Linked DNA regions of Homo sapiens: regions 2, 3 and 4 are each linked to region 1. The links are contacts of gene promoters, found by promoter capture Hi-C in human tissues and cell types (Jung and others, 2019). All regions are on one chromosome and are shown on one strand. Each heading gives the region's core, a stretch centred on a gene start or on the middle of the fragment in contact. The rest is flanking DNA. Distances are from core to core; before and after follow the strand shown. Region 1 holds the start of HEBP2 (heme binding protein 2). Region 2 has its middle 76 kb from the start of NHSL1. Region 3 overlaps ARFGEF3 (ARFGEF family member 3). Region 4 has its middle 11 kb from the start of ARFGEF3.

Region 1 (6,176 bases), core at 2,365-4,864:
CTCCGGAAGGCACAGGCAGTTAACCTCAGCAGCATCCATGTGGTGCCGACCTCTGTCAGTACATGAGCTGTGGGGGTGTGGCTACCTCCACCTTGAAGGATGGAGCTGCCCAGGGCCTTGGGTATGTGACCCAAGCAGAGGGCCACAGTGAGACCAAGCTACTGCAGTGAGTCCCCAATAGGGAAATGGCTAACAGAGCCATGGGAGCCGGGCACACCAGACTGGGAGGGCCACCGGTGTGCAATTCGAGCCTGGTAGAGCTGCAGGGTGGGGTCCCTCCAACTGTGAGAGCTGCAGTGGGGTTGGGCCATCCAAAGCCATGGCCAGGGCCACTTGAAGCCTTGGGGGCCCAACCTCTGTTCAGCAGAGCTTCACAAGTGGGACCTTCATCCCAGTGGGCCCAGAGGGAAGAGCTTTGAGTCAAAGAAAATTAATCTGAAGATTTAGAACTTACTTGGAACCTGTTACCCATTTCTTTTTTCCCATTTCTTCCTTTGGAATGCAGTATTTATCCTATGTCTGTCCCACCATTGTATTTTGGAAGCATATAATATGTTTGATTTCACAGGTTCATAGATGGAGGGGAATCGGCCGCAGGATGAACTGTACCTTGAGCCTCAGATTTGATTTTGATGATCTTTAGATGAATTTAGGCTTTTGCTGGAATGAATTAAGACTTTTGAGGCTATTGGGATAGAATGAATGTATTCTGCATGTGAGATGATATGAATTTTACAGGATCAGGGCAGAATGCTATGAACTCTATGTTTGTGTCTCCCCAAAATTCATATATACATTTTTCTTTTTGTTGAGACAGGGTCTCAGTCACCCAGGCTGGAGTGCATTGGTGCAATTACGGCTCACTGCAGCCTCGACCTCCTGGGCCCAAGTGATCCTCCTACCTCAGCCTCCCAAGTAGCTGGGACCACAGGCATGTGCCACCAGGCCTGGCTAATATATATATATACATTTGGTAGAGATGGGGCCTTGCCATGTTGCCCAGGCTGGTCTCTAACTCCCAGGCTCAAGTGATCCACCTGCCTCAGCCTCCCAAAGTGCTGGGCCTCAAAATTCATATTTTGAAAACCTAATCACTAATGTGATAGTATTAGGAGATGAGGCCTTTGGAAAGTGATTAGGTCATGAGGGTAGAGCCTTGTAAAACATGTCCAATAAAGCTGCCTTGCCTCTTCCACCACATGAGGGCATTTCTGAGAAGGTTCCATCTATGAACCAGGAAACGGGCCCTCACCAGTCACTGAAACTGCCAGCACCTTAAACTTGAACTTCCTTGTCTCCAGAAATGTGAGAGAGAAATTTCTGTTTTTCATAAACTACCCAGCCTACGGTATTTTGTTACAACAGCCTGAACAAACTAAGACTTCTGTTTTAAGGTATTTTTGTTCAGGTCTAACTATATTGCAGTCTTTTGTTTTGGGAGCATATAATTTGCACCGTGTCTTATATGAAGGGCATGCAATAGACTCATTAAATGAAGTGATTATTATCTTGTGACAGACCTCAGTAACATATACAACAAAGCCAGTAGGAAAACATCACAAAATGCATTAGACCTGATTTTATGGAAGGGTGAAAAAGCCTTTTGAAATTGCATTGGAGCTAAACTGTGAGTGCACGCAAGTAAAACTAGCAGTCAGCAAGGCTATAAATTATCTACCACTTACCGTACAAACACAGTCATTTCGGCTCTATCTTCAATGAAGACATCTGACTCTAAAGGCCTGGGTGGATCAAATTGCTGTTCAGAGGGAATATACAGGGAAATGGTAATGGTAGACTCACTAAAAGGACCTGAACCAGGCTCCACGTAGCTTGTCACTGGAGCTGTCATCTTTATTTTCATCTCTGTGACATAAAAATGAAAGCAAATTTAGTGTATTTTTGACAGCTTTAAACATTTAACCTATTCTTTTTTGATCTGGGTTCCTTGATTTACTTCACATTGTTGACATATTTACCTTTAAGATAATTTTCATCTTAAAACAGTAAGGCCAAAATTACTCAATTGCTCACTGCCCACATTAAACCACTTTCTGTAATACTGATATTCTGGGTTAATAAATTCTTAATTTTTAGAGATAAAAGGGGAAATTAGAGATTACATGGTCAGTAAATTATTTTTTCTTACCATTCAGAAAATGAGGTCCCACAGGCTAAGAGACCTGCTAAAATATAAATAGCAGCAAAGCCAGACCAAAAGCTATGACTTGATGCTTCTAATCTTGGTACCTTCTTGCCTCCTGACGTCTCTGATCCTACCAGTCACCAAATTATCTTGAGGTGTTAGCCATAGAAAAGGACTTATCACGAGTTACACCAAACCCCAGTTCATCCAGCAAAATCAGAGAACAGAGGTTGAAAAGTAATACCCAGTGTAACCCTGGTCCTGAGGAGTCTTGTCTGAAAACAAGACAAGTCTTTGATGACTTGCTTATTTTTCCATTATAAAGGATATTTCTTTAATAAGCTAAAACTCAATAATAAGCCCGGGGACTCTTTCACAATATGCATAATTACAAGGAAAACTGCTTTTACCTTTCTCGTTTTTGCCTTGAATGTAGCTGTTCAGTTTCGTAAAGCCCGTCTGGATGGCTGAATCCCAGTCCATAGACTCCACGGACGTGCTGACCCACTTGGCTGGTCCATAGTGTCGGATCTCATAACTTCCGGGCTAAAGTGGAACAGAGAAAACTTCGAGAAGCAATTCTAAGAGGGTAGGAGTGAGATGCAAAAATACCGGTGCCATGATCTCGGGTCGACCTGGAGCCGTCCTGTCTAGGGGCTGCACCGCCCCGGGGTCCGGCCTGAGGTCCCCGCTCCTTAGGTCTGGGAGGTTCCCCTCCACGAGGTTCCCCTCCTTGCGATTAGGGACCGCAGCGGCCCCAACCCCACACGCTGGGGACTCGATTCACACTTTCAGACAAGCATCTATTACACCCCCTCGGTTCGGAGGGTTCCACCGCGCGTTCTGGGACGTAACCAGTTCCTCCCCGCCCCACCACCCCGCAAAGACAAGAAATTGAGATGGGACCTGCACTGGGGGTAGCGGGGAGGGTAGAGCTAAATGACCGGGGTTTCTCGTTTGCGTAGCATAGTGGGTAGGGACTGGGACCATTTAAAAAACTGTACTTTTTACTTAACTCTATGGGACCCGCTGGCCTCACTGCAAATCAGCCGGAAGGCGGGCCCAGCCCCTCCGCTCCCGAGTCGGCGCCTACCTGGGGGCCGGCGTCCTCCGGGGCCTTCCAGCCCGGCGTCTCCACAGCTTGGGCCGCCGCGTCCTCGGCCGCCCCGGGGTCTGGCTGGAGCGGCTCGGCCATGGGCGGCGCTGACGCTCTGGGAGCCTGGTCAGCCGCGCAGAGGCCCCGCACCCCGGGCCGCCCCGCCTGCGTGTGCGCGCCCCGCCGAGGCCCCGAGTCCCCGCTCCGCAGACCCGGTCCCTCCTCCCGGCCGGGCTGGAGACCCGAGCCCACCCGATGCGTCTGCCTCTGGACCGCGAGGGGGCGCCGCCACCAAGGCGGGGCCGGCTCACGACCCCGGACAGCTCCGGCCGGAGTTGCGCGTCCTGCCCCCGCCCCTCCGCGGCGACAGGGAGCCGCACCTCGCTTCGGCCCGCCTTCTTTTGAGGCACTTCCGCCCCCGCCCCGCCTTTGTTTTTGAAGGAAAGGCACACACAGGTGGCCCCGCGGGCAGTAGGGGGTGGCGCTGTTTCTGTGCAACCGGTTTGGGAACCTCTGCCGCGGCCCCGCCCGCGCTGGGAACCGCGGGCGCTGAGCCGCCTCGAGGGTGTCCCAGCGCACCGCAGGCAGAGAAAGGCAGGAGGTGGCGGCTGGCGACCCGACCCCCGCGGCCCCTGCCCGCACTCCTGGGGCTCAGCCAGGGCGAATGGCCGTACTCATCCCAAGAAGTTGTCCTAGGTCCCAGACAGCTTTCAGGGTCCCTTGCGGAGGAGGTGGTGGGACCACAGACACATGGAGAGAATCTGGAACTGTTCTGGTTTCTGAACTTTTCCCCGACAGGACCCCAGACCCTCTGAGTCATCCCCGCAGGCTTAACGAGACTCGGGGAGAGTTAGTGCCGAGGCCAGACACTAGTGCTTTTCAAGAATTTTGGTTACCAGGGCTTTCCCGAGCCGAGTGGGGTGCGGCTCTGTTCCCCAGCACCCCCTTTCCGCCGGCCAGGCCGACTCCGCGTTACTGTCCCCTGCGGCGGGGACCCGGCACGGCTCCGGCGCCCCCCAGAGGACTCCCATCGTGGGCAGCCAGAGCTCCGAGGCTCTCCGGGGCGACGTGACCGCCGCAGAGGCAGCAGGCACTCCCCACGCGAAAGCCAACGGACAGGAGGGTGGCCACGTGAAAAGCAATGGTGACATCCCCCAAGGGTGAAGGGGAGTAGGCCCCTGTGAACAGAAGAGGCAGCCGGGACCATTGGCAATGCCATGGAGCCAGCACCCCCTAGCCAGGGTGCTGAGGCCAAAGGGGAGGCTCCCTCCCTCGCAAGGAGACTTCCAAGAAGACGAAATTGCCTTTCAAGGCCAGGCACGGTGGCTCACGCCTGTAATCCCTTCATTTTGGGAGGCCAAGACAGGGGTGATCGCTTGAGCCCAGGAGTTCGAGACCAGACTGGGCAACATGGCGAAAACCCGTCTCTACAAAAATACAATAAAATAGCGTTGATAGTAGAGTGGAGAGCATAGCTGCCTTCCAAAAAAAAAAAAAAAAAAAAAAAAGCTGAGTGTGCTGGGGTTGTGATCTCAGCTACTCGGGAGGCTGAGGTGGGAGGATCGGCTTGAGCCTGGGGAGGTCGAAGCTGCAGTGAGCCGAGATTGCGCCACTGCACTCTAGCTTGGGTAACAGAGTGATACCCTGTCTAAAATAAATAAATAAATAAATAAATAAATAAATAAATAAATAAATAAATAATTATCTTTCAAGAAGGGTTTCTAAGAGCAGCTTGTCCTTCAAGAGAAATGGGAAGGAGGGTGGGGTGACTCTTCTGCCTCCTCACCTATGGAGGAAGAACAGGAGTGGGGGAAGATCAATGCCTGCAGCGACAAGGGCGCTGCCCAGGAAGGGAAGGCTGTTGCCACCCCTGAGAGCCAGGAGCCCCAGGCCAAGGGCGCAGAGGCAGTACTGCCTCAGAAGAAGAGGCAGGGCCCCAAGCTACAGAGCTGTCCACTCCCTCGGGGCGGAGAGTGGCCCTACACCAGCCCACGCTGAGCAGAATGAGTAGCTGGGTGGGCCAGGTGGGTGATCTCTAAGCTGCAAAAACTGCTGTTCTTGTGAGGTTACTGCCTGGACCTGGTGCCCTGGCTGCCCTCCTGTGCCCAGAAAGGAAGGGGCTATTGCATCCTACCAGCTACATTCCCTTTCCTTCTCTCCCTCCTGTGGATTCTCCAATCGGCCATGTGGCTTTCCTCGTAAGGCCAGTTGAAGACGGTCCCCCACAGCCTCCCAAGTTAGATTAGTGATATGAAATGTGCCTTTCCCTGGCCCTGCCTCCTTCCCTGTCCCCAGCCCTGCAGAAGGCAATTTTTGGTTTTCTTCCCCAATTCTTTTCCAAGTAGGTTTTGTTTACCCTACTCCCCAAATCCCTGAGCCAGAAGTTGGGTGCTTAAACTCCCAAACCTCGAGGGTCCGGCCTCCCCGCTGTTGAGTTTTTACTCTGGTGCTGTGCCTAGTGGCACCTGGGCCGGGCAGGGGGGCACTGCCCTGCCTAGGGTTCTATTCAAGTTCCAACCTTCAGCTTGTGAATCAACTGTGTCTCTTTTTTGACTCGGTAAGCACATGTTAGGCTTTGGGGCCAGGGAGAGGTCTGTAATGTGAAATAACTTCTTCTTGCCTTTTCTTCTCTCATTTTTATGAATAACTTTTAATGGCCAAACCCCAGATTTGTATTCTTTTTTTTTCTAACTGCTACAACCATTCTCTTCCACCTGGTTTTATTATAACAATTGGAAAAGGAATAAATATCCCTTAAATTTTTTTTTGTTAGATGTATTCTTTATTTTTTCCAAGAGATTTATTAAGATATAATTCATATACCATATAGTTCACCCATTTAAAGTGTACTAGTCAATGGTTTTTAGGATCTTTAGATCTGGGCAACCATCATCACAAGGACTGGGCAACCATCATCACAAGGTGAGAACATTT
Region 2 (6,026 bases), core at 688-3,187, 170 kb before region 1:
TCAAGAACAAAGGAAGTCATGATTTTTAAAAAAGTTATTTATTTGGAATTTTATTTTGATCTCAGAATAAGTTTGCCCTTGGTCTTCTTATATTAGAAGAATCTCAAAGTTGATGCTGTTTTAGGATTTCTTGTAATCTGAACTCCTTAGGTTGGGGACATTTTCTTGGTGAAAGTTGGTACAGATGTTGCATTTTTGGTTATGTACTGCTTACCAAGCCTCTGACGTCCATGTTCTGTGTCAGTGGCGGCTTCTTTACCAGCGACATCCTTTGTCCCCTTGCACCTTAGGGGACTGAGAGCAATAATCTGCCATATTGCTTCTGTATCAAGTGATCCCATGGGGACAGTGCAGCTAAGGCTTAGGATGTCAGATCTGTTCGCCCTTTTCAGGCATGAAGACTTTGAAAGGTGGGAGTTGGGCTGGTGGTGATACATATGCATAAATGTTTGTGTTGAGTCTTTCCCTTTGAGGGGAACAACACTATTAATTCCGTTGAAGGCACTGTGGCTTTTAAAGCCAGGGTTTAATGAGAAGTCAGTGCTTTTCCTTCTTTTAAGTTTTAAAGCAGTGGTAGTTGAGGGCAACCTGAAAACGGGGCCGGCGCTGATTAGGTAATTAGCTGCGTTTTGCCTTCCATGACTTCTTTCTAGAGTACAATCACTTGTTTCATTCCTTGGTGGGTGGAAAGGTGGATAAAGGAAGAAGGATTTAATGTACTATGGGGAATGTGTTTGCTGTGGTCCTGGGGGTAATACCGTTTGGTTGTTTTGTTTTTTTAATTATAAATATCTGGCTCAAAGTATTTACTTTTGATATTGAGATAAGCTTTCATTATTCGTGTGTACAAATTACCTCATAGAAAGATTTCCATTTAAGTGTACTCTTAAATTATTCACAGGAGATGACAGTTGGAAAACCTACTGTACGCTGTCCTAAGCTAAAGGTCCCTGTGGGTTGTCTGGGTGATTCATGTGGTAATCTGATGAGAGGCACACTTCACTGCTCCCAGCCCAGGCAGGGCCACTTCAGAACGTGACACCATTGAGAGTAGTCCTCTTCTGTGCTCTATGTGGTTCTCTTTGCACCTTTGTCTCTTTTCACATGCCTTCTGTTTATGCACCTCACTCCCAGCCAAACCAGCCAACCCCAGCGGCGCTTGCAATCCAGCCGTGTTTTCCCATTGATTTCTAACTTCAGGGTGCTGCCTCTCTTGTTCTCTTTGCTAGGTTTGACAGGGCAGGCAAGCTACACATGGAAATGAAAAGTCACAGTGCTCATTTGTGGCCTGTGAGGCCAAAAAACTGATGGCACTTGAAATTAGTTCCTATTTTTGGCTGGCATTTTACACAGATGGCGAGTAGAGCAATTACATGCCTGGTTGCGTTGAAAGGTTTGTCTAATCCTATATCCTGTCCTCTTTAACACTTTTTATTAAGTCTCCAACTTTCATTTATGATAAACTCCTTTTTCAGGATGCCAGTATATGCTGAAACATAAAATATTGTGTCTTATGGCAAGAACCTTCCAAATATATTCAGTCTATTCCTTTGACTCTTGGTAGAAGCATAGATAAATCTTTCCAAATTCATGGGCATTTGACTTAGGAATTCCCAAAGGAGATGATTCTAGAACTTCCTCTAGTAATTTATTCTGGTGCCTCCAGTTTTTATAGTTAAATTTTCCTTAATGTATTATGTAAATCATTTCTGAAATATATAGAGTAATATAGAGTAATTTCTTGTCCCTTTGTCAGCAGTGATGGGTAAGTGACCCTCAAATGTGGAGAACTAAGTATAAAAGATGCAATTGATCATAAACATGGTGTAAAGATCCACCTGGGGGTCATTATGCAGGGTCTGCTCCTCCAGCCATTTCAGCCATTTCAACCCTGGGGCTTCCGTCCCGCTGGTGAAGGAGGGGGGTGCTGGCCAAAGGCAGCTGCGACAAAGCCCTTCCACAGAGGCTCTGCCTTTTATTCCGTGAGCCCTCATTAACTCCCATTAAACATGTAATTTAAACAAGCCTGTTTATGTGATTCCTAAGGCCTGAAGCTCAGCAGTGGCAAAGTGGTAGGAAGGGAGCAGTTATTGGCACATGTGATGACAGCAGAAGTTCGAATTTGACAGCCTGACAGTGAGAGGGGAGGGGGCAGCCCAGCACGGTAAGGAAGGCAGATAAAATCTGTTCAGCACGTCTGTCTCACATGGGGACAAGGCAGTCTAATGTAGGTTTTCTTGGAGAAAAATAGCTACGTTAAGATGTTTTCATTACTTTGAAGATTATAGCTGAAGTTATTTTTTTTAAAAACCAATTACTGTAAAAGTAGGATTTGCAGGCGGGGAGCGGTGGGTCATGCTTGTAATCCCAGCACTTTGGGAGGCTGAGGCGGGCAGATCACCTGACATCAGGAGTTTGAGATCAGACTGGCCAACATGGCAAAACCCTGTCTCTGCTAAAAATACAAAAATTAGCCAGGCGTGGAGATGCGCGCCTGTAGTTCCAGCTACTTGGGAGGCTGAGGAAAGAGAATCGCTTAAACCCGGGAGGCGAAGGTTGCAATGAGACAAGATCGCGCCACTGCGCTCTGGCCTGAGTGACAGAGTGAGACTCTGCCTCAAAATAAATAAATAAATAAATAAATAAATAAATAAATAAATAAATAAATGTAGGGATTTTTCCACGGCAGGGTTATTGTGAAGGTTAGCAATAATATACAGGAAGCTTTTGGCACAAAGTAGCCTTGGCCCTGCTGCCAGGAGGGGCTGATTTGTATGGCTCTTGGGTTGATAATCCACATAACTAAAATGTGGGGTTCATCGTGGTTGCTAAACAAATATAGCTTGAGTGAATATAGTAGCTTCTTAAGAAGCCCACTTAGGATGTTCTAAGCTAATTAGAGTATATATCTAATATGCATAGTTAAGATCTAATTATTACCTACAAAGCTGATTTAAACCATTATATTCTCTTGATCAACAGGAACTCTGATCCAGTTGTAAAAGTAGTTAATTTATTTGACTTTCTTAGATAAATGAAGATTTAATAATCAAGGCCCAATATAACAGAAATATGGACTAGCCAGTAGACAGAGAATTGGTTATTATACAAACGTATCCCTAGGTCTTATGATTTGTGGGTGCACAGTTTCTGGAAATCTGGCAGACGTGGGCACTTACTTTGACGGAGAGTCATGAGTCTAGTCCCTGAATGGACTAGTTATCATTTTGGCTGCTTGGCAGGAAATGTTCCTTTAGCTTCTCCTGTTAACCCTTTCCTTGAAGTGTACAGGGTTGGGGGCCCTGGAGGAAAACACGCCAGTTACTAATGATACCAATTCACCTTTGCTGCTGTGTGTATGCACATTCCATGGAGGGGGAGTTGAGGAAAGCGCTCAACAGCACTTCTGGTAAATAAAAAATAGCACTTGGACCAGGCACGGTGGCTCATGTCTGTAATCCCAGCACTTTGGGAGGCCGAGGCAGACAGATCACCTGAGGTTGGGAGTTCGAGACCAGCCTGACCAACATGGAGAAACCCCGTCTCTACTAAAAATACAAAATTAGCTGGGTGTGGTGGCATATGCCTGTAATCCTAGCTACTCGGGAGGCTGAGGGAGGAGAATCACTTGAACCCGAGAGGCAGAGGTTGTGATGAGCTGAGATTGCGCCATTGCACTCCAGCCTGGGCAACAAGAGGGAAACTCCGTCTCCAAAAAAAGAAGAACACACAAGGTTTAAGCATATATATAATTTTTTATTTTTATTTATTTCTTTTGAGATAGGGTCTCACTCTATTGCCCAGGCTGGAGTGCAGTGGTGCAACCACAGCTCACTGAAGCCTCGATTTCCTGGGCTCAAGCGATCCTCCCACCTCAGCCTCCTGAGTAGCTGGGACCACAGGCAAGTACCACCATGCCTGACTTAACTTTTTTTCTTTTCTTTTTTTTTTTTTTTGCATTATTTGTAGACACAGAGTTTTGCCATGTTTCCCAGGCCGAGCTTGAACTCCTAAGCTCAAACGATTCATCTACCTTGGCCTCCCAAAGTGCTGGGATTACAGACGTAAGCCACCGTGCCCAGCCAGATATTTTTAAATTAAAAATGCAGCTGCAGGATGTAGAGAGTAGGGAGAAGAGAATTGTGTTCATTGTTTGGGTTCCATGGCTCCTTTGAGTGTGCACAGATGTGTGGCGGGGGTCTCGTGAACCAGTGAAATGGCAAACAGCATTTGGGGCATTAATGGATTTCTCTGGTGAGATGGTCTTTTTTTACTTTTCCTTTTATATTTTGAGACTCTCAAAAAGTGTTTTCTACTCAGAAAGAAGAGAGTGGATGTTTGATGTTAGCCACTGGTGTTATGCACAACTATTTTAACTTTGCCTTTATAATGGTAGTCATCTGGGTGCGGTGGCTCACGCCTGTAATCCCAGCACCTTGGGAGGCCAAGGCAGGCGGATCACAAAGTCAGGGGATCGAGACCATCCTGGCTAACACGGTGAAACCCTGTCTCTACTAAAAATACAAAAACAAAATTAGCCAGGCGTGGTGGCAGGCGCCTGTGGTCCCAGCTACTCGGGAGGCTGAGTCAGGAGAATGGTGTGAACCCGGGAGGCAGAGCTTGCATCATGCCACTGCACTCCAGCCTGGGCGACAGAGTGAGACTCTGTCTCAAAAAAAAGAAAATAAAATAATGGTAGTCAAAGTGGAGATATTATTGCAATTAATAACTGAAACAGGCCCAGAGCACTTGGTGATGTAGCAAGCATCCCTGGTAAGTGTGTGAATCTCTGATCCAAGTGGTGTCGGCTGCAGCCTGGTCCTCATTACTGACTTCTCTGTGTGACATTGGGTATGAACATACTTTCTCTGGGCCTGAGTTTTCCTATCTGAAAATCATGGAGTTTAAACTACGTGATCTCAAGGACTCTTTTAGCTTTTAAACTGAGGCTGCTTTGTAGCTTCTGCCTTAGTAATACCTGTTCTCTGTCATTATTTACATGGTGTAATATGAACTGCCTATCTTAGTAACACTTTGTAGAACTTCTGACTATCTTCTACAAGTGTTCCTGTCCCAGTAAGCTTGTAGAGCCTTCTTCTTAAAATCTCAGTGAATTGGAGTAGATGTATGATGCAAAATTCTGGTTTTAAAATTTTTAATCAGTTTATTTTCTATTGCAGTTTGTTAATTTTAATGTATCTGATCGATGCTGAGTAAAGCAAAGTGCTACAGACCTAGTTCTCTACTCGTTGCTTATTTGCCTTACCCCAAATAACGCTTGGGAGAAGGAGATGCCGACCCAAGTCTCTATGATGGAAAGTTGCAGGGACTTTTAACACCCCTAGGACCGTGGAATTGTAGTAAGTTAGCCTTGGGTGAAATGCTACACCCAAATGCATTGCAAGCTGTGGCTCTAGATAGTTTGCAGAGGAGGCTCAGGGCTAGAGCCTGCAGCTAAGTGCCACTAGCGTAGCTCTCTGATGACTCTTTGTGATAGGATGATCATTCAAGGTTGGAGAGGAATAACCCCCAGGGGCTCCCAGTGATACGGCAGAGGAGGATCCAGCCCCACACTCTGGCTGCTGGTGACAGGCAGGAGTGACAGTAACAGGTACAATGATGGCTGCGTTTCACCTTTGTTGGAAGCTGGGAGTGAATAGCCGGGTCCGTTATATTCTCTTTGGAAATATACTTCCTTAAATGATGGACATTCCTAAATCCATCTAGGAATGTTGGATGTATCTATCTATCTATCTATCTATCTATCTATCTATCTATCTACTGTATTAAGCCCCTTCTCAAAATTGTAGTTTCAGAAGTATGGTTTGATAATTCATAATCAAGTTCTTTTTCTTTATGCCCAGAAGTCTGTATTCTGCACAGACTTGCATACCCCTAGCTGCGCTAAAGTTCAGAAGTTTGAGCTGCCACTGAAGTATTGACTGTGGAGAGGCGGGGTTTTCTGTCTCCAATGAGGTGCCTTTGGTGTCGGGAAAGCCTATCGTCTTTCGCAGGAGTGCTTGCTC
Region 3 (6,637 bases), core at 2,152-4,651, 230 kb after region 1:
CATGTGCCACTCTCTCCTTGCAAACAGATTTTTCTGGTCACCTGTTTATGGCAAGCCTGATCTCAGGAAGCTAGAAAAGTTCAGTTCTCCTCTAGAACAAGCCCTTGCTCACTTACAAGGTTCCCACTGAGCCCAGAAAGGCTGACAATGTCTTCCCCACATTGCCTTTCACAGCTTGCTGGGATAAAGAATTCGCTAAATCTGAAAATGAGCCAGGCTTGGACTAACCAAAGTGTCTTAAAGCTCCCCCAACCTGCCCGCCTTTTTTTTTATGGTAACCAGCAAAACTCAACAGAGTTTGACTCAACAGGGCCAAAACTCAGTTACATTTGTATGACTCTGCAAAGAGAAGTCAGCTATAGTAGGGAGAAAAGGAAGAAGGCAAGAAAAGGAGACTCGAGATGAGTTTACATCCAAGAGAAGCACAGATGTTTGTAATCTACCTAGAATAATGTGAAGTACCTGTCCAGCATGTATGCTCAGATCCTCCATTCATTAGCACAAGCTGAAAACATGAACTGCAAATTCTACACCAGCATCCTTTGCTTCCTCCATGGCAGTGGGAGGTAGCAAGGGGAGTCCAACACTTCTCCATGACGTAAGAAAGGCAGGAAAAATACTGATGAGAATCAAACTGTGTGCCAAAAACAGCTATTGGGGTATTTGCTGTCCTCATCATGTTAAATCATACAAAGTTCTTCCCAGTTGATGCAGATATGTTTCTTTCTTCACATTAAAGCCAAAAAACTGATAGGCATTGGTGGTTCACACCTGTAACTCCAACACTTTGGGAGGCTAAGGTGGGAGGATCGCTTGAAGCCAGGAATTTGAGATCAGCATGGGCAACATAGCAAAACTCCATCTCTACAAAAAATTTTAAAAAAATTAACTGGGCATGGTGCCATACACCTGTAGTCCTAGCTACTTGGGAGGCTGAGGCAGGAGGGTTGCTTGAATCCAGGAGTTTGAGTGTGCAATGAGCTATGATTGTGCTCCTGCACTCCAGCCTGAACAACAGAGTGAGACTGTCTCTAAAAAACAAAACAAACAAAACAACCAAAAAAACTTGCATATCTTGCAGAAGTCGCTCCAGGGTTCATAGCACAGAATTAAAGCACTAAAATAGATCAATGCAGCATAAAGGCAATTAAAGTAAAACCATATGAGAAATGGGAAGCTGTTATGGATGGTTCTCTCCAAGTATAAACACTGATGAATGTGCTCACACCCTGCATGAAAAATCAGTAGGTCCCCACGTCAAGACGAGGAGGAATATGTCATTATCTAGACTGAATGAAGTGTCTGGACAAGGCAGGCAAAATGAAGCAAAGGGCCAGGCAGAGGGTCAGCTAGGGAGGAGAGGTGGTGGGACACATACAAAGACAAATGGGAAAAAAAAAAGCTGTTAGAATCTTTTTGGAAAGTACAACTGGCAAGAGAAAGCAATTAGGCTGAGGTTGGCTCTGAAAAATCATGGAGCAGGTAAGCAAAATGGCTGGGTTATGGCTAGGGTAATCACTGGGATTGTTCCCAAAGGGGCACTGAGTAATGCCAACAAGAGGTTTGCTGCCAATGGCTGCCTTTTGACAAAATAGCTCCAGGATTCCCTTGACAGTTTTATTTCATCTGGACCAGTACTGTTGCAAGTGACCTGGAAGGAAGAAAGAGACAATCCTGAATTGGGACAGGATAGGAGTGGAGGTTCTTCAGTCCTTTAGAACATAAATACTCCAAGTCAAATTCATGTTGGAGGTGGAGGTAGGACAGGCAGTATGCCTCTTCCAGGGTGGCCAAGGACTTTTCATGGAAATCTACTGAGAACTGAAAACTTTGTATCTTTAGCATCCTTTGGCATAGAATATTGGTCAGAGTCCTGATTACTACCACCACCATCCCCCACCCCTTATCTAATATACATTAGGTGGGGCAGGGCTTTAGTTGAGTAGAGGGCACAGGATTTAAGTCTACACTAGCTGAGGTCAATGAATTGAGTGTTGGGCTTCTGGGTATACTCTTTAGACCGACCTTCTCAGTCAGTAAGATATTAGAAGTCCTATTGCCAAAGCTGAGATTCCATTTTGGCACAGATTCTTTCAAATACTGCATTTTCTAAGAATCTAGGAGATGAAGGCAGTGGCTTTCTGGGACATGTGATGTAAAGCTGGAGAAGCAGTTTCATCCCACAAACATTTATAAGGCACTGACATAAGAGATACAAAGATGAGTAATTTGTCTAGATGAGCTCCTTGAGGCTAGGGTCTGAGAATAGAACCTGCAAACAACTGCCAACGTGGTTGATGAGCTTCACGACAGGATTATGTAAGAAGAACGGTGAGGACACAAGGGAGAGAAATATAATTTCTACCTAGGAAATTAAGGAAGGACTTCAGGACATCTCAGCACAGTCTTCAAGGATAAGTAGGATAAGGAAGTGAGAAAGGCTGCATGTTATAAGACACACACTGGGCAATTTTGATGAAGAGAGCAGCCCAGAACATGTTCCCCTAACATTTTAGTGCTCAACATGCAGGGGAGCTATCGGGCTACTTATTCAAACACCTCTAGACCTGTGGTTTTGGTCTTGGCTTTGGCATGTGGAAGGAAGAGGAGCCATGACAAGTATGCTATATTTCATTATATGAGATGGCCTAGGACATAAGAATGGTGAGGATTAGGGAATGCCTTCAGTAAAACCCTAGCCGACCAACATCATAGTCACATCTTCGAGAGAAAAAGTCCCCCTGCCCAACAAAAACAAATTCAGAAAGAGGAAGCTACCCTTGCTCCAAATGCATTTAAATCAACACAAAGATAAAGGAAGCATACAAAAGTAAGGTAATGTGACACCCTCAAAAGAACACAGTAATTCTCCGCCAATAAATCCTAACCAAAAAGATATCCTTGAAATGTCAGATAAAAAATTCAAAATATTTATTTTAAACACGCTCAATGAGATGCAAGAAAAATCTGAAAACGAATATAAGGAAATCAGAAAATCAATTCATGATATGAATGAAAAATTTACCAAGGAGATAGACATCTTAAAAATATTCTGGAACTGAAAAATTCATTGAAGGAATTACAAAATATATTCAAAAGCTTCAGTAATAGACTAGACCAAGCAGAAGAAGGAATCTCAGAACTTGAAGGCAGGTCTTTTGAAATAATACAGTGAGGCAAAATATAAGGAAAAAAGAATGAACAAAGCCTTTGAGATATTTGGGACTATATAAAGCAATCAAACTTACAAATTATCAGTATTCCTGAGGGAAGAGAAAGACCAAAGATCTCTTTAAGGAAATAATTGATGAAAATTTCCCAAGTCTGGCAAGAAATTTGGACAGATCCTCCAGATACAGGAGGCCCAGCAATTCCCAGAAAAATGCATTGCAAAAAGGACTTCACTGCAGCATATTATAATTAGACTGTCTAAAGTAAAAGTGAGCCAGGTGCAGTAGCTCATGCCTGTAATCCCAGCATTTTGGGAAGCTGAGGCAGGTGAATCACTTGAGTCAAGGAGTCTGAGACCAGCCTGGGCAACATGATGAAACCCAATCTCTACCAAAACAAACAAATAAACAAACAAACAAACAAAAAATACAGAAATTAGCTGGGTGTGGTGACATATGCCTGTAGTCCTAGCTACAGGGAGGCTGAGGTGGGAGGATTGCTTGAATCTGGGAGGCAGAGGTTGCAGTGAGCTGAGATTGCTCCACTGCACTCCAGCCTGGGTGACAGAGCATGACCGTGTCTCAAAAAAAATATAAATAAATAAATAAATAAATAAATAAATAAATAAATAAAGTAAAAGTGAAAGAATTTTAAAATCAGCAAGAGAAAAGCATCTAGTCACCTATAAAGAAAACCCCATTAGACTAACAGTGGATTTCTCAGCAGAAACCTCTTAGATAGAAGAAAATTGAATGACATTTTCAAAATGCTGAAAAACAAAGAAAAGAAAATGTCGACCAAGAATTTTATATCCAGAAAGAATAAGCTTCATAAATGAAGGAGAAATAAATTCTTTCCCAGACAAGCAAATGCTAAGAGAATTTATCATCCCTAGACTGGCCTACCAGCAATGCTCAAAGGAGTCTTAAACATGGAAATAAAAGGCTGATATTCACCATTATGAAAACACAAAAGCTCACAGGTCTTATAAAGCAATCAAAGGATTAAGAGAAGAGAAAGGAATGAATGGCAACAAGAGAGAATTCCACCAAACCACAGAGACAGAGAAAAAGAAAAAAACAAAGAATCTAAATGACAACGTGACAGGAACAAAACCTCACATACCAATATTAACCTTGAATGTAAATGCATTAAATGCTCCACTTAAAATATATAGATTGTCATAAAGGATTTAAAAAAGATCCAACTAGGCTGGGTGCAGTGGCTCAGGCCTGTAATCCCAGCACTTTGGGAGGCCGAGGCGGGTGGATCACGAGGTCAGGCATTCGAGACCAGCCTGGCCAATATGGTGAAACTCCGTCTCTACTAAAAACACAAAAATTGGCCGGGTGTGGTGGCGCTGTGCCTGTAGTCCCAGCTATTTGGGAGGCTGAGGCAGGAGAATCACTTGAACTCAGGAGGTGGAGGTTGCAGTGAGCTGAGATTGCACCACTGCACTTCAGCCTGGGTGACACAGCAAGACTCCGTCTAAAAAAAAAAAAAAAAAAATCCAACTACCAACTATACGCTGCTTATAAGAAACTCACTTTACTTGTAGAGACATGTGTAGACTGAAAGTACAGAGGTGGGAAAAGATATTCCATGCAAACGGAAATCAAAAGTAAGCAGGAATCACTATACTTATGTCAGATAAAACAGACTTTAAATCAAAAACAATAAAGACAAAGAAGGTCATTATATAATGATAAAGGGATCAATTCAACAAGAGACTATAACAATTTTAATATATATGTACCCAACACTGGAGCACCCAGATTCATAAAACAAATATTACTGGACCTAAAGAAAGAGATAGACACCAATACAATAATAGTAGGGGACTTCAACATCCCACTCACAGCATTAGACACGTTGTCAGGACAGAAAATCAACAAAGAGACATTGGACTTAAGTTGGACTTTAAGCCAAATGGACCTAACAGACATTTACACAATATTCTACTCAACAACTGCAGAATATTCTAATTGTTCTTGATCGGTAGCCTCCAAGTCTTATGATATTACTTGGTTGAAAAACCAGTGGATAGCTATGATGGAATCAGTGACTATCAGTGGCAACTGTACTTGGTCATATTTTTCACCAAATCTGTCACTATTAGGGAACATCCTGAGTGGGCTTTTGCTTATGAAGCAAAAAGGACATGGGGAGGATGATTCTAATCTAAGACATAACCTGAGCTATCGATGGCTTCTTCGGTGTAGGGATACCTGAGTAGCCCACTAATTCATAGATTTATTCAACCCTGCAAAGATGCATGTAAGGAGACCTTGAAGTTTAAGAAAAGGGAAAAGAGAAGCAAAGATAGCAAGGGTGCAGTCTCCTCATGGAGGAAGATAAGGACCCTTAAAACTCACCCCCAAATCAAAAGCAAGACTAAGGGCAGGAAGGTGGAAAGATTTTCACATGACTAGCCACTAATAAAGTCATGAAATATTCCATAGTACATATTCCCTGGACCTGCCTCCCTCCCTGGCATTGAATATCAATAGGCTCTGCATTAATTCCTACCCTTGTTGCTCACCACATCAACAATAAGAGTGAGCATTTCATCAGTGACAGAGCCTTGAGCACAAATAAGTAATGTCTCTTGACCTCCTTAATTCCATCTAATATGTTTGATCATCAATATCTCTCTTAGAATGCTTTATGCATAACTGAATCCAGTCACCAGTCACTTAAATCATTCAAAAGTCCTTAGAGCAATCAATGGCAAAAGGAAAAATAATACAACATAGGTCTCTCAAGGATTCAATTTCAACACAGGCTCTTCAAGGGTTCTTCTGATTTAAGCTACCACTACTAACGTACACAACTGACCAAAACAATATTAGTAATTATGAGAATGGGACTATATTTAACATGAAATTAACAAATAAGTGGCAAAAGAAAAAAATAGGAAAAAGCAGAGCAAAGGTATTCAAGATTATGAATGATCCCTGTAGCCCTTTCCAAAACAAACAATTTTAAAAATCTGCAAATAATCACCTGGAGGTGATTATGTAACAGAAATGAAAACTAAATCTGAATTCAAAATCAGAAGAATGCAAGAGATAGTTTATAAACTTGGTTTCTTTCCCATATATTAAATGTAAGCATAATGGAAGAAAAAATAACATATCCAAATTCTCCTCAATGAGCAGACAAATATTTACAGTGCCTGGATTTTTTTTTTTTTTTTTTTTTTTTTTTTTTTTTTTTTTAGCAGATGCTCAAATAGAAGGATGCCATGTTAAACATAATGATTTAACAGAGTAAATGCTCTCCTGGTTTAAAGTGCCTGGAAGAGGAATCAAAGGATTAAAGAAGGACTGATTTACAACACAGGGGGAAAAGCCCATTACTGTATGTCTCCTCTTTATATCATTTCCCTAATGATAACATGGAATAGTAAATCAGACTAGTATTGATTCAATCTCTTTTCTGCTCTAATTATGGCTTCTTCTTG
Region 4 (6,544 bases), core at 484-2,983, 250 kb after region 1:
TGAGCCTGATGTTATTTGCTACTTTCTTTCTTTGAAGCATTTGCTAGTTCACTTCATAGTGCACAGAAGTCAAGCTAAATATGGTGACCTAGAGATATTTGGGAAGACAAAAATTGGAGTAAGACAATTAGAATTGAGGAACTAAGGTGACGGGGAAAAGGAAATCACAACAGTAGTAAGGCTATATAAAATTATACATAACATTATAAACAATAACCTCACAATGCCTGCCACCTGCTTGTTAATAAAATTTAAATGTTTTGATAGCCATATCTGTATATGTAGACGTATATGTATTTGTACATATGGTAACTTTTATATAAATGATGTAAATGGTCTTATACATTCTGCTTCCTTTCACTCTATGGTTTGTCACAGGCAATTTTTCCTTTTAAATGGCTGCTTATTATTCTGTTGTATAACTCTAGAAAACTATTTAATCCATCTATATTGTTGGATTCCAGCTTTTACTATTATAAACAAGACTTCAGTAAACATTGCTGTGGTTATTGTATTACCTACCTATTAGAATATATTCCTAGAGTAAACTCCTAGAAGGGGGAAGTGCTGAGTCAAAAAGGATGCACGCTATGAGGCCACATTACCAAAACCAGACAAGGACACAACAAAAAAGAAAACTACAGGCCAATATCCTTGATGAACACATGTGCAAAAACCCTCCATGTAATACTAGCAAACCAAATCCAACAGCACATCAAAAAGATTATATATCATGATCAAGTGGGATTTATCCCAGTCATGCAAGGATGGTTCAACATATGCAAATGATTGTGTGATACATCACATTAACAGAATGAAGAACAAAATCCATATGATCACTTCAATAGATGCAGAAAAAATATTTGATAAAATTCAACATTCCTTCATGATAAAAACTCTTAACAAATTAGGTATAGAAGAAACATACCTCAATAAAACAAGGGCCATAAATTACAAACCCACAGCTAACATCACATTGAATGGGGGAAAACTTGAAAGCTTTTCCTCTAAGAACTGGAACAAGACAAGGATGCCCATTTTCACCACTTTTATTCAACATGGTACTAGAAATCCTAGCTAGAGCAATTAGGCCAGAGAAAGAAATAAACAGCATCCAAATTGAAAAAGAAGTCAGATTATCACTATTTGCAAATAACATGATTTTATATATAAAAATACCTAAATACTTTACAAAAAAACTTTCAGAACTGATAAATGAATTCAACAAATTTGCAGAATACAAAACAAACATACAATAATCAATAGCACTCTTGTACACTAATAATAAACTAGCTGAAAAAGAAATCAAGAAAGCAACCCCCTTTACAATAGCTGCCAAAAATATTTAAATACCTAGGAATAAATTTAACCAAGGAGGCATAAGATCTTTACAATAAAATCTGTAAAACACTGATTAAAGAAATTGATGAAGACACAAACAAATGGAAAGACATCCCATGTTCATAGATTGGAAGAATGGATATTGTCAAAGTGACCATATTACCCAGAACAATCTACAGATTTAATGCAATCTCTATCAAGATACAAATGATATTCTTTGAAGAAATAGAAAAAAATTCTGAAATTTGTATAGAACCACAAAAGACTCACAATAGCCAAAACAATGCTGACCAAAAAGAACAAAACTGGAGGCATCATGCTACCTGATTCAAAACATATTACAAAGCTGTAGTAACCAAAACAGCATAGCACTGGTATAAAAACACACACATAGACCAATGGAACAAAATAGAGAACCCAGAAATAAATCCAGATATTCACAGCCAACTGATTTTTGACAAAGGTTCCAAGAACACACACTGGGGAAAGCACATCCTCTTTAATGAATGGTGCTGGGAAAACAGAATATCCATATGAAGAAGAATGAAACTAGATCCCTGTTTCTCCACTTGATCTTAGCCAAAAGGCTGAGAAGCAATTAGATCCCTATTTCTCACCATATACGTAAATCAACTCAAAATGGATTAAAGACTTAAATGTAAAACTCAAAACTGTAAAACTACTAGAAGATAACATAGAGGAAACGATTTGGGCAAAGATTTTATGGGTAAGACTTCAAAAGCATAGTCAACAAATGCAAAAATATACAAATGGGATTATATAAAACTAAAAAGCTTCCGCATAGCAAAGGAAACAACTAACAGAGTGAAGAGACAACCTGTGGAATGGGAGAAGATATTTGCAAACTATTCATCTGACAAGAGATTCAGAATATATGAGAAACTCAACAGCAGAAAAAGATCTGATTTAAAAAAATGGGCAAACAACCTGAATAGACATTTTTCAAAAGAAGACACACAAATGGCCACCAAGTCTATAAAAAAAGAAACCCAATATTAGTAATCATTAGGGAAATGCAAATCAAACCACAGTACGATATCATATCACCCTCGTTAGAATAGCTATTATCAAAAAGACAAAAAGTGAGGATGCAGAGAAATGGAAACTCATCTACTGTTGGTGGTATTGTAAATTAGTACAGCCATTATGGAAAACAACATAGAGGTTCCTCAGAAAACTAAAATTAGAACTACCATATGATCCAGTATTCCCAGTACTGGGTATTTATCAAAATGAAAGGATTATTGCAGCACTATTGTGGCTAAGATATGGAATCAATGTAAGTGTTCATCAATGGATGAATGGATAAAGAAAATGTGATATATGTAGAAAACAAAATACGATTCACCCATAAACAAGAATGAAATCCTATCATTCTTGGCAACACAAATGAGACTAGAGGACATTATGTTAAGTGAAATAAGTTAGGCACAGAAAGATAAACACGGCATGTTCTCACACATATGTGGGAGCTAAAAAAGTTGAGCTCATAGGAATATAGAGTAGAATTGTGATTACTAGAGGGTGAGGGGATAGGGAACATGTGGTTAAGGGTTACAAAATTACAGCTAGATAGAAGGAATAAGTTCCAGTGTTCTATAGCACTGTGGGGTGACTGACTATAGTTAGCAGTAATTTATTTTATATTTTCACATAGCTAGAAGAGAGGATTTTAAATGTTCCCAACACAAAGACATGATAAATATTTGAGGTGACGAATATGCAAGTTACCATGATTTGATCATTACACACTGCATACGTGTATCAAAATATCACTCTGTACCCCATAAATATGTATAATTATTACATGTCAGTTAGAACATTTTAAGAGAATTCTAAGTGATAAAAAGGATTGTGCTATAGTTTGACATTTTTTTCTTCCATAGTAGTACATAGAATAATGATACATCTTATGATCAATGCTATGTTAGGTTTGTTGAAGTATCGATTATTAATAATTGAATATAGAAAGACTGCTTACATTCTTAAAGCTTATTTTGTTTTGTTTTTAATAGAATAAACTCATGAAATAAGAAAAAAAGTTTACATGGTTAAAGGGTTTGGCAACATACTGTCAGACTCAGCTCAAGGAACATCAATGTTTGCGTCTACCAACAGTGCACAGAGAGCCTGTATTCTCTCTTCAGCATCACCATGTACTGAAGATCTTTTTCCCCTTGGCCAGTTTATTGGTCGAAAAAAATATATTTAATTTTTGTTTTAGTTCATAACTAAACCTAAAAGATGAAGTTGAACATCTTATTTTTATTGTTTATTCTCTGACTGTTTATGTCCTTGGCCCATTAAAAAATCAGATAGCTCTTTTATCAGTTTATAAGAACTATATGTATATTACGGATAGTAACTTTTGTCATATAAATGTTGCAATTTTTTGTCATTTTTAAAAAACTTTGTCATGACTGTCTACATAGAAATGTTAAATTCTGTGTGTGTGTGTGTGTGTGTGTGTGTGTGCGTGTGTCTCAATTATGTGGCAGAATGCTCTTTATTAAATTGCTTTTTATTATTGCTAGCAGTAATCCTCTAGAAAACCATAAAAGAACATGAACTTCTTCACAGACGTGAAAGTAAAGGAGCTGGGAGATTGTGATCTACTTAGCAGTAACTTAGGCAGAAGAAAACATGGATACAGCTATAGATAATGACATTGGAAACATAAGAATATAAACCTGTGAAAGAAGAGGGAGGGAATAACTGAGGATATGACTCAGAAAAGTCACCTCAGAGGTTTTATGCTGACAAGAAATTCTCATTCTTTAGAATGCTCCGTACTTCATCCCCATTCATTCCCCAGGTTTTCCCTTCTTAAAGACTCCACAATAGGCCACAGGAACTTCCATAAATAATTTGGAACAGGGAGAATCTCCAGTTCTGATATTATGTACACAGTAAAGGGAGATATATTCTTAGAGTTCCAATTTGAAGTGAAGAATAAATTCTCCCATAGGCACGTTATTCACGGAGATTAGTTTGATTACATAGATTCTTACTGTGCATAAAGGCAAGTATACAGGTAATTACAAGTTGCTCTCCATTCTCAGGCATTTGAATGCCCTTCTCATTTTGGAGAAATTCCTAGAAAAGTTCGAGAAAGAGCCCTATATCATACTATGGCATATGTTTTCCTTCTTCTTCTTCTTCTTTTTCCTTTGGCAGTTAGAAAAGCCTGTGACTTAAGCTTGGCCAAGCAAATGTGCCCATTTGGGACTCTGATTCTGTACCAAATGCCTAAAGAAAAAAAAAGGGAGAAAGAGACATAAGTCCTGGATAAGAATGCTCCCAGAATAGAAGAATCACCACTTCTATTCAATACTGTATTGGCTAAAATTCTTAGCCAGCACAATGAAACAAGAAAAAGGTACAAGAATTAGGAAAGGAATAAATGAAACAGTCATTTACAGATGATGTAATTTCAACATGGAAAAATCAAAATAATCTGCAGATAAATGGAATCTACAGGTAAAATATCAGATTCCATGAGTTCAACAAGATTTCTAGATGTAATATCAATATAAAAAGAAAAGTGCATTTCTATTCAACAGTAGAAAGTGTTTTAATAGTATAAAATAATATAAAGCACCCAGGAATAAATGTAAGAAAAATGTGCAGGTCCCTGGTGCAGAATTACTAAAGTTTTTATTGAGGAACTTTAAGGAGGTCCAAGTATATGGAGAGACATATACAGCTCAATAGAGAAATGGGTAAAAGATATGAACAGTTATCTCATAGAAGTGCAAATGTGTTTGGCTTATAAACATAGGAAAACACCCAAACTTGGTAGTAATCAGGGAAACCTAACTTAAGACCACACTGAGCTACTCTGTTGCACCCACTAGCTTGACAAAGATAATAAAGTTGGATACTACCCGATGTTGATGGAGATGTGGGAACGTGAAAAAAGTCATCAGTGCTGGTGGGAATATAATTATTACAGCCATTTTGGAAAATAATTTGCTGTCACCTAGTAAAGTTAAATATTCACATTCCTTATTACTTAGAAATTCTACTTTTGGCTGGATGCAGTGGCTCATGCCTGTAATCCCACCACTTTGGGAGGCCAAGGTGGGTGGATCACGAGGTCAAGAGATCGAGACCATTCTGGCCAACATGGTAAAACCCCATCTCTACTAAGAATACAAAAATTAGCTGAGCATGGTGGCACACGCCTGTAGTCCCAGCTACTTGAGAGGCTGAGGCAGGAGAATCCCCTGAACCCAGGAGGTGGAGGTTGCAGTGAGCCAAGATCGCACCATTGCCCTCCAGCCTGGCAACAGAGTGAGACTCCGTCTCAAAAAAAAAAAAAAAAAAAAAAGAAAAGAAAAGAAATTCTACTTTCACTATAGACCTCAATGAATTATTTAATATGTACACCAGGAGGTGTGTGTATATAATTAGCAGCATTGTTGACTGGGAAAAAAAAAAAAAACTCCTTACTTCATTAACAGTAGACAGGATAAAGTAGTTCTGGTATATTAATACAATAAAGCAGTGGATGTGAACAAACAGTAGCTATTTCACACCAACATTGAAAATACATAGTGAGCAGAAAGCATGTTACAGAGGAATGCATACAGTGTGATTTTATTTATATAAAGTACAAAAACAGGCAAAAGTAACAATGCTAGGGACACAAATCTGTGATAAAACTATAAAGAAAAGCAAATCCAGGGATTGGCCACAGTGGCTCATGACTGTGATCTCAGCACTTTGGGAGGTTGAGGTGGGAGGATCACTTGAGCCCAGGAGTTAAAGACCAAGCTGGGCAACATAGGGAGACCCCCATCGCTGCTGGAAAAAAAAAAACAACATTAGCCGAGCATGGTGGCAGGTGCCTGTGGTCCCAGCTACTTGGAAGGCTGAGGTGGGAGGATCGCTTGAGCCCAAGAGGAGGTCGAGGCTGCTGTGAGCCATGATCACACCATTGCACTCCAGCCTGGGTGACAAGAATGAGACTTTGTCACACACACACACACACACACACACACACACACAATAGCGCAAATCCAGAAAACTTAGTTACCCACGCGATGAGGGCAATGAGGGGAAAATAATGAGAAGAATGCTAAAGGGCTTCAGAAGAATAGCTTAGCAGTAGTTACAGAAGTGCTCACTATGCTTTAAACTGTACCTAAATGTTAAATCCCCTCATTATTTATTTTTA

Evidence for each region. The method cuts DNA at HindIII sites, captures the fragments that hold promoters and counts their contacts. A contact is called where the count stands out against the background at its distance.
Region 2: a fragment that was not itself captured here is called in contact with the fragment with the promoter of HEBP2 in region 1 in 1 of the 25 tissues and cell types used here (pancreas).
Region 3: a fragment that was not itself captured here is called in contact with the fragment with the promoter of HEBP2 in region 1 in 1 of the 25 tissues and cell types used here (aorta).
Region 4: a fragment that was not itself captured here is called in contact with the fragment with the promoter of HEBP2 in region 1 in 1 of the 25 tissues and cell types used here (dorsolateral prefrontal cortex).

What each region holds. Positions count from the first base shown.
Region 1 is chr6:138,401,661-138,407,836 of GRCh38, reverse strand. It overlaps HEBP2 (heme binding protein 2), which reads right to left and starts at 3,614. Exons shown (of 4, transcript NM_014320.3): 1 at 3,240-3,614; 2 at 2,557-2,692; 3 at 1,686-1,866. The coding sequence starts at 3,341. It also overlaps the pseudogene MARCKSL1P2. RefSeq lists enhancers at 3,358-3,878, 4,400-4,920 and silencers at 3,149-3,998, 4,129-4,198. The HindIII fragment of the contact is 23,421 bases long and covers 1-6,176 here.
Region 2 is chr6:138,572,603-138,578,628 of GRCh38, reverse strand. It overlaps a transcript of NHSL1 not described here. Among named protein-coding and RNA genes, the nearest start is that of NHSL1, 76 kb to the right of the region's middle. RefSeq lists enhancers at 1,447-1,947, 5,726-6,026. The HindIII fragment of the contact is 3,932 bases long and covers 1-3,903 here.
Region 3 is chr6:138,174,225-138,180,861 of GRCh38, reverse strand. All of the region lies in intron 2 of ARFGEF3 (ARFGEF family member 3), which reads right to left. Among named protein-coding and RNA genes, the nearest start is that of ARFGEF3, 16 kb to the right of the region's middle. RefSeq lists an enhancer at 5,154-5,323. The HindIII fragment of the contact is 5,909 bases long and covers 447-6,355 here.
Region 4 is chr6:138,147,723-138,154,266 of GRCh38, reverse strand. No RefSeq gene overlaps it. Among named protein-coding and RNA genes, the nearest start is that of ARFGEF3, 11 kb to the left of the region's middle. The HindIII fragment of the contact is 4,449 bases long and covers 1-3,957 here.